2 separate regions of the Homo sapiens genome follow, and region 1 is linked to region 2. The links are contacts of gene promoters, found by promoter capture Hi-C in blood cells and fetal thymus (Javierre and others, 2016). All regions are on one chromosome and are shown on one strand. Each heading gives the region's core, a stretch centred on a gene start or on the middle of the fragment in contact. The rest is flanking DNA. Distances are from core to core; before and after follow the strand shown. Region 1 overlaps DCAF12 (DDB1 and CUL4 associated factor 12). Region 2 holds the start of DNAJA1 (DnaJ heat shock protein family (Hsp40) member A1).

The links. Contacts are between HindIII fragments. The CHiCAGO score rates a contact against its expected background, and 5 or more counts as called.
Region 1: a fragment that was not itself captured here is called in contact with the fragment with the promoter of DNAJA1 in region 2 in 1 of 17 cell types (fetal thymus); the score reaches 6.9 in fetal thymus.

The regions. Positions count from the first base shown.
Region 1 is chr9:34,120,178-34,124,932 of GRCh38, forward strand. The region is part of intron 2 of DCAF12 (DDB1 and CUL4 associated factor 12); the gene reads right to left. Among named protein-coding and RNA genes, the nearest start is that of DCAF12, 4.1 kb to the right of the region's middle. The HindIII fragment of the contact is 2,026 bases long and covers 2,198-4,223 here.
Region 2 is chr9:33,022,181-33,026,522 of GRCh38, forward strand. It overlaps DNAJA1 (DnaJ heat shock protein family (Hsp40) member A1), which reads left to right and starts at 3,093. Exons shown (of 9, transcript NM_001539.4): 1 at 3,093-3,203; 2 at 4,295-4,342. The coding sequence starts at 4,305. It also overlaps a transcript of APTX not described here. RefSeq lists enhancers at 1,933-2,528, 2,851-3,145, 3,123-3,717, 3,674-3,743 and silencers at 3,004-3,153, 3,434-3,573. The HindIII fragment of the contact is 3,848 bases long and covers 195-4,042 here.

The sequences.
Region 1 (4,755 bases), core at 1,961-4,460, 1.1 Mb after region 2:
GGGCAACAAGAATGAAAGTCCGTCTCAAAAAAAAAAAAAAAAAAAAAAAAAAAAAAGGCCAGGTATGATGGCATGTGATATAGTCCCAGCTACTCAGGATTCTGGGGCAGGAGGATCCCTTGGGCCCAGGAATTTGAAGCTGCAGTGAGCCATGACTGCACCACTGTACTCCACCCTGAGTGCAAAATGCTGTCTTGAAAAACAACAAAGTGGCTGGGCATGGTGGCTCACGTTTGTAATCCCAGCACTTTGGGAGGCTGAGGCGGGCAGATTACATGAGGTCAGGCGTTTGAGACCAGCCTGGCCAGCATGGTGAAACCCCGTCTCTACTAAAAATACAAAAATTGGCCAGGCATGGTAGCACGCGCCTGTAGTCCCAGCTAGTCGGGGGGCTGAGGCACAAGAATCGCTTGAACCCGGAGGCAAAGGTTACAGTGAGCCAAGATCGTGCCACTGCACTCCAGCCTTGGCAACACAGCAAGACGCGGTCTCAAAAAAAAAAAAAAAAAAGAAAACAAAGCAACCCTGACATAATGGGTTAGCCTGATACTCTCAGGTAGGCCTTGGTGTCCTAGCGTAAATAAATAATTTCAGAGAATATCAACATCAGACAAGGCCACTCTGCAACTGTGATAAAGACAAAAACAAGACCACTCTATAATCATACCTGAACACAGACCAAAACAGGAACACTGGCCAGGCAAGGTGGCTCACACCTGTAATCTCAGCACTTTGGGAGGCTGAGGCAGGTGGATCACCTGAGGTCAGGAGTTCGAGACCAGCCTGGCCAACATGGTGAAACCCTGTCTCTACTAAAAATACGAAAATTAGCTGTGCGTGGTGGCATGTGCCCGTACTCCCAGCCACTCGGGAGGCAGAGGTGAGAGAATCACTTGAACCTGGGAGACGGAGGTTGCAGTGAGCCAAGATCATGCCACTGTACTCCAGCCTGAGCAACAGAGCGAGACTCCATCTCAAAAAACAAACAAACAAACAAAAAAACCCAAGAACACTGACTAAACCACAAAAAGATCAAACATCCCCTTAACCTGGCTAATATAAATGACTGTTTCATCTTTATCAATTACAGCTTTAACCTCCTGCTAGATAAGATTAAGATACCCAAACATAGAATTTGCCCGTCGTGACAGTATCCATCTGGAGCAAAGTGCTATATCCTTAAGCCGTCCCCCAAATCACGTGCAACAAGTCCCAGTGTTGTAACTCCTTTCCAGCACTCTTACCGAGAGGTCCCTCGCTCTCTTATGGTGAAGGTTCTCCTAGGTACAACAAGCAACTATATCTGACTTGTTCTGCTACAAGAACAGTCCCTGGTAGTCTTTGACTGGAGAGTGCTGACAATGGGAAATAAGAGTTCACGTCCAAAATTAAATACCTCCAACTGTGTAGATCATCACTCTGCCGATTGCCATCCTTCTCCTCAAATCACACCCCACCCCCAGCCCCTTCAAGAGCCCTCTTTTCGGCCAGGCGCGGTGGCTCATGCCTGTAATCCCAGCACTTTGGGAGGCCAAGGCAGGCGGATCACGAGGTCAGAAGATCGAGACCATCCTGGCCAACACGGTGAAACCCTATCTCTACTAAAAATACAAAAATTAGCTGGGTGTGGTGGCAGGTACCTGTAATCCCAGCTACTCAGGAGGCTGAGGCGGGAGAATCGATTGAACCCAGGAGGCAGAGGTTGCAGTGAGCTGAGATCGCGCCACTGCACTCCAGCCTGGTGACATAGCGAGACTCTGTCTCAAAAAAACCAAAAAAGCAAACAAACAAAAATAAAGTCCTCCTTTCTTGAATTCTTTTCTGTATTCTCCCGGTTTTCCTGAGTTCCCTGCTCCCCCGCAGCAGTTCTTCTTGCCCTGTAAATGTACATGTTTTCCAAGGTTCTCTCCTTAGCTTATCTGTCAGTATCAGTGGTTCTTAACCATTTTTGGCTCATAGTACTCTCTTTCAAAATCTAAGGACAAAAACTAAGAACGACTTCCCACACCACCCCCCCAAAATCTTGCCCAGAAAGTACACATATAATCAAAACTTTGCAATTTTAGGGAAAGTTTACACAACTCAAGCCAGGAATGCCTGCTCTCTACTGTCTTTCCCATGATAATGTAACAATTTCAATAATTCCTTCTACATAAATGACTGCCAAATCATTAACTTCAATCCTTACTCTCTGCCAAGCTTCAACTAATTGATGAAAAGGACAAAACCCAAATCTGTTCCTTAACATTCACCCTGCCATCTTTCCAGTTATATAGGTTCAAGACATTAGTATCAATTTTTTTTTTTTTTTTTTTTTGAGACGGAGTCTCACTCTGTTGCCCAGGCTGGAGTAGAATGGCACAATCTCAGCTCACTACAACCTCCGCCTCCCGGGTTCAAGCAATTCTCCTGCCTCAGCCTTCCGAGTAGCTGGGATTACAGGCACCCACCATCATGCCCAGCTAATTTGTTTGTACTTCTGTAGAAACAGGGTTTCACCATGTTGGCCAGGCTGGTCTCGAACTCCTGACCTCAGGTGATCCGCCCGCCTTGGCCTTCCAAAGTGCTGGGATTACAGGTGTGAGCCACCTTGCCCTGCGAAAGAAAATCTTTTTAACACTAGGCTCAAATTCCTACACGGCAACAGTTGGTTAAAGTCAAGAATGCCTTCTGTAGTTCTTTGCAGCCCCTACTACTCCTTACTGTCTTGCGCCTAGCAAACTTTTCTTCACTTAGCTTTTCTGTCTGGCTCCGCAGCCAATCTGAATTTGCGTAAGTCTAAACCATGAACATATACCTAACCCATCCCAGCTGCCAGATCCATGTTCTAATTAAGGTTATACCACCTCTACTTAAGCAGTTGAGTAAAAATATGACTTTATTGTTATTAATGATAAAAACAACAGTGGCTATCCTTGCTGTTACTGCTGTGCTAGCTGGGGCCAAGAAATCTGGGGATTGAATGACTACCCTAGTTTGATTGTTAGCCCACAGCACAGGGACATTCTACATCAAAACTTTCCTATTGAGAATACAACATAATCTCTCCCACCTCTGAAATCTTCACACATTATCCAAAGACAATTCCAATTTTTAAATAATTTTCCTCTCTTCAAATTGTGGGAAAAGGTTATGGAAATCATTTTTACCGCTACTAGTACTTTTAAATAAGTAAGATATTGCTCACTCAGAATATTTCCCAGATGCATGCAGACACCTTAGCACCAGATATTATCACTCCCATTTTGCAGATGCAAAAACAAAAGCACAAATAAGGGAATCATTTGCCCAATGTCACAAAGTTCAGAGAAGAGCACTATTCCTAGTTCCCTGCTTTGGTTCTGGAAGCTAAGCAAAAACAAACAAATACTAACTATAAAATGAAAACAGCTCCCCTTGCCCCAAACACTAGGTTATGAGGATTAGGAAGACAGAAAGAGGTAGGAATTAAGAGTAGGTTAAATTATTACTTATTATGCTCGCCTTCAAAATAGTGTCAATAAATTCAACAAGCAAGAGGCTATGATGATTAATTCAGTTTACAATTCAGTAATATTTGCTAGGCTAAACACTATGATGCACGTGCGGGGAGTGGAATGAACTCTTCCAAGCAGGAGACTCTTTTTCTACTCCAAGTGACAAGGATGACAGTTCTTAACCACGAGTGGGCAGCTGGAGAGACCAAGAAAAGGAAGTTCTGTGGAGGCCCGTTGCCACCACTTAGTTTTGAAAGGCTTCTGGGTAAGACAAGCGACTCCTCAACAGAAGAGGAAACGAAAGGTTGGCCCCAACCACCATGGTATTATTTCCTTCCTCAAAACTGTTTAAATTTTTGCCTATGTCCTTTATAAACAGACCAACCACCATGGTATTATTTCCTTCCTTAAAACTGTTTAAATTTTTGCCTATGTCCTTTATAAACAGACACTTCTCCTAGTACTTAAGACTTTCTTGATCTAGAGCAATCTTCTCTCTTTTAATGATCCAAAATGTGTTTCATTCCAGGGTCAATTTACTCACACATTATGACATTACTTGTCCATTCACACAGGGGAGGTGAAAACCGAGGGAGGGCTGGGCGTAATCATTTCCCACCCCTAGGCCCTAGGCCCTGCCTCTTTTCATTTGCCAGTCTTGTGACATCATGCTATTCGTGGACTCTATTCCAAACGTTTCTGCTCTTTGACTTATTTTATCCTGGCCTATAATTGGGTTGGTTACAAAGCTTACTGAGAAATTTTTCACTTCATTCATTTATAACTGTCTTTCTATTCACTCTTAAAAAGGCTACTTTCCAAAGAGCTAATGCTTATACCCTGAAATATACTACCAGACACACATTCCCTGCCTTCCTTATAGGAAACAGTTCATGTATTTCTCATATTTCAGTTTATACATTTTTAGATTCTGTTCACTAAAAAACAGCCAAGTGTGCTATTTTAAATACTTCGACATACGTTCTTAGGCTGTTTTCACTATTATGTATCCTGAATGATGCTCTAAGCATCATTATTTCTTAAATCTTTCCTTTGAGGCCTATGACTTAAAAACCAGCATAAAAATATGAGGCAAAAACAAACAAACAAACAAACAACCCTCTAGAAGCAGCACATCCAGAGAGGGCCTGAAGAAATACACTCCTTTGAGGACTTATCAGAAAAGAAATGTATGAGTGAAAAAAGGAACACGAAAAGAGGAAGAAGTCACCAACGGGAAAGAATGGAAAGGAGAGTAAGGCAAGTCCCTCCTAAAAGA
Region 2 (4,342 bases), core at 1,843-4,342:
AAAGAAAACAATTGTAACACATGACAGACTAATATCTACCCCTAAAAGGGCTATTATTAAAATAGTGGAATTACACCACAGAAAAATGGTAAAATAATATGAACAGTTGACAGGAGAGTCAGTAAACATTTAAAACATGGTTAAACTTACTAACAAAGAAACTCGAAACAATAAGATATCACTTTTTATCTCCAAGCTTAGCAAAGATTTAACAACAAAAGGCCCTCATATTGGCAAGGCCCACTCACACACTGCTGGAAGCAGTTACAAACCAGTATGGAAACTTATTTATTACAATTTTAAATCTACATTCATGTTGACTCAGCAATTTCAATTCTAGCTGTCCATCCAACAGAAATACTTGCATGAGTACTCAAAGCTGTATTTGCTAATTTCTCTGCAGCAGTTTGTAAAACACTGGAAATTGCTGAAATATTCATCAGTAGGGGAATAAATTACGGTGCCTACATACTACGCCATTAAAAATAACAAGGCAGATTAGTTATTTATCCTGGCATAGTAAGATGACAAAGTGAAAAGGGCAAGCTGTAAACAGCTTGTATAATGATCCCATTTCTGTACAAACGAAGACCACATACAAAGTTATTGCCAGTTTTTTTATTTTATTTTACGTAAGAATGCTTCTTAAAAGTGTTAACTTTTTTGTTAGTTTCGTTTTTAGACAGGGTATTGCTCTGTCGTCCAGGCTGAGGTTCAGTGGTGCAATCACCACTCACTGCAGCCTTGACCTCCCAGGTCCATCCTCCTGCCTCAGCCTCCCAAGTAGCTGGGAGTACAGGCCCACACCACCACACTAACTCTAATTTTTGTAGAAACGAGGTCTTATTATGTTGCTCAGGCTGGTCTCAAACTCCGGGACTCAAGGGATCCGCCTGCCTTGGCCTCCCAAAGTGCTGGGATTACAGGCTTGAGCCACCATGCACCCCCTACTCTTCCTTTATTAGCATTTAACACTCAACTGTTTGTTTCTGGTTCCCTATGTTGTGAGCTCCTTGAAGGCAGGGACCACGACTTATGTGATTTTTTTTTTTTTCTGAGACTCGACAGAGTCTTGCTCTGTCAACCAGGCTGGAGTATAGCGGCACCATCTCTGCTCACTGCAACCTCCGCCTCCCAGGTTCAAGCGATTCTCCTGCCACAGCCTCCTGAGAAGGTGGGACTACAGGCACGTGCCACCATACCTGGCTAATTGTTTCTATTTTTAGTAGAGAAGGGTTTCACCAAGTTGGCCAGGCTGGTCTAGAACTCCGGATCTCAGGTGATCCGCCACCTTGGCCTCCCAAAGTGCTGGGATTACAGGTGTGAGGCACGGCGCCCGGCCTGACTTACGTGATTTTTGTATTACAAAGCCCTAGTACACTGCCTGGTAATATTAGACGTTTATTAACGGTTGGTTTAAACAAAAAACTTTATACCAGAGGTGATACTTGAGAAGGCAACACCTAAGATTGAAAAAAATCAGGTGTCTGTCAGCCAATGCAAAAGCATACAAAGGTGAAAAGGCGTATATGGGAAACTGCGGATAGTTCTGTGACTGGAATGCACAGTTAAAATTAATGAAAGAGAAAAGGCTGAAGAGGCAGCATGAGGATGCTTCCAAGGATAAAGTTCAAAATTCTTAGCGTAGCATATATACCAACAGACAAAGGCATGCCCTAACTAGCTTTGAAGCCTCACCTCCGGCTATTCTAGCTCCCTTAGCTATGGCTATATCCAATTAGTTGCAATTTCCTAAAAACATCATATTCTTCCACACCTTAGTATAGCCTTCCCCTGTGCTTTGTCCACTGCTCTCCTCCCATTTTCAAAACTCAGCTCAATTGCCACTTTCCCAAAGAAATTCTCTCTGATCTATCAGGTTAATATAGGAGGCTCTCCCCTACTGACTTCTACCTCATGGTTTCTCTGGCAGTCTGTTGACTTGTTTGGCTTCTCACTAAAGTCTAACTGGGGCTTTTCAACTCTGCATCTCCAGTTCTGTTTTTGTTTTAAATCGAGACGGGGTTTCACCATGTTGCTTGGGCTGGTATCAAACTTCTGAGCTCACGCAATCAGCCCACGCTGGCGTCCCAAAGTGCTGGGATTACACACGTGAGCCACCGAGCGTGGCAAACTCCATCTTTCTTGGTGCTAGATACTGACATACCTGCTGTGTCCCTGGATAAAGAAGCGGACCCCAATTCCCATTAAGCCCCCGTGGTACCATTTTCAAGTCCGAGGTCTTACGTTGCAGATTGTACATCCAGGTTCCCTGACCCGTAGGATTTAAAAGTGAGGTCAAATAATTAAACAAATTGTTTTAGTCAGACACTCTTGCGGCTACTCTGTAGCCAAACTGGGTGAAAACCTGACCAGAGGAGTCCACGGCCCTCTGTACATCAAAGACGGTCCAAACGTCTCACTGTTTAGCTCAGTCCCAGACACACTGAGCTCAATCTGCACGAATCAGCGAGGTCCAGGGCAGATAACATGTGTCTAGGGGCCTGGACTTGCACAAAAAGCCTTAACAACTTCACAATTTGATTAATTATGCCGCCTTGGACCACGCGTGAAAAACAGCAAGACCCAAGGCCTATGCTATTGGTCTGGGGACTAGACCCACCTGGCTCAAGCATTTTTTGCTCGCCACGTTCCCAAAAAGAGAAGAGGCGCCCGTAAGAGGGGGGGGGGGGGGGGCAAGACTGTTCCAAGAGCTTTCCCGTTCACACACAGCTCCCGCTGGGTCACTGTACTCGAGCCCTTCCCGCCCTCGCGGGCCCAGGCGGCCACCCCACAGGTTTGGGAACCCTAGGACTTGCAGTGCTCCTGGGCCATGCCCCACCAGCCGGAGACTTCCGCACTCTCAGGCTCGCTGAGTGGAGAAAAGGGCTCCAGAAGATTCCACGAGCGCCGGGAAGCCGCGCTAGCACCAACACCCACAAGGCCTTTCGGCGCAGCTCCTCCCGACCCGTGCGCCCCCGCGCCGTTGCCCAGGTAACGGCGGGGCGGTGGCAGCGGCCGAGAAGGGCGGGACTTCCGGCGGGTGACGCGCCCGGGTTCGGCTACAAAAGAGGACGGCTGCGGCGCGCCGGGCGGAACTTTCCAGAACGCTCGGTGAGAGGCGGAGGAGCGGTAACTACCCCGGCTGCGCACAGCTCGGCGCTCCTTCCCGCTCCCTCACACACCGGCCTCAGCCCGCACCGGTGAGTTTGAGCCCTCGCGCTGCCCCTAGTCCCCTGGCTGGCGCCATTGGCGCCGGGAAACCGATGGAGCCGCGGTCGGGAGGCAGTTGGCCGCGTGGGTAGGACCGCTGTCAGTTCCTGGGCCCACGATTTCCCTTTTGGAGGGCTGGTGTGGTGCCCTGGCAACCCATCCCCGGCACGCACAGTGAATGGGCCCGAGACCTTTCCTAGACCTCCCTCCTTCCCCAGCCTGGGATCTCCAAGGAGCTACTGTCTTCGGCTGCCCCTCCGTGCGCGCCCCCGCGGCCCCCCTCCCCGTCCGTGCTCGCTCGGGGTGGGGGGGGGGAGTGGGGTTGGCGACCCTGCGCACGCGCACAGGGAGGCAGGGGCGAGGGGCTGCGGGGGGAGCCGGGCGGAGACTGCGGCTTTTGGTTTCGCTTTCTCTGTTTCCCCTCCCTTTGTTTGTTGAGGGCTGGGCTTTCCCCACCGCCACTTGGGTCCAGGGTGGGAGGGAGAAAGGAAGGAAATCGGTCAGCGCCAAGTGCAAGGGGAAACCTGGCAGGTAAACTCTGCCAGCCTGAGGGGCGAGAGGGATTCGGCTGGAGAAGCTGTAAGCCGTGGGCGGTGGAGGGCTTGCTGTGTGGAGCCAGTAACCTGTTCTATAAACCACTCCCCCCCACCACTGTGTGCCCAGACGTCTTTTTCTGGAGAGTATATGGAGTTTATCAGATTTGCCAAAGACAGTGATAGTGTAATGACCGGTAGACTGAACATATCAGTGCTTCTTTTGGTTACAACTGTCACCGCCTCTAGGGCAAACGGGAAGAATCCAGATAATAGTTGTGTTATATTAGTATGGAAGCTTTGGTGTAGGAAAATTGGAACCAGCTGCTAGAAGGCGGCTCTCAGATTATTTCCCGATAATGATTATTTGTTTTGTCTGTTCGAGTTTATAGCTGAATTATCGCAGGAATTGTTACCTTTTTGGTGAAATTTAGGGAAGGTGGTGTTCTTATAATCGGATTTTGCAAAGAGATTGCTCGGCCTTAGCTCTCTTTTTTATTAAAAGCTACCAGTTGAAAGCCGGTTAAAGTTGCATTTTCTTATTTCAGGCAGTAGAAGATGGTGAAAGAAACAACTTACTACGATGTTTTGGGGGT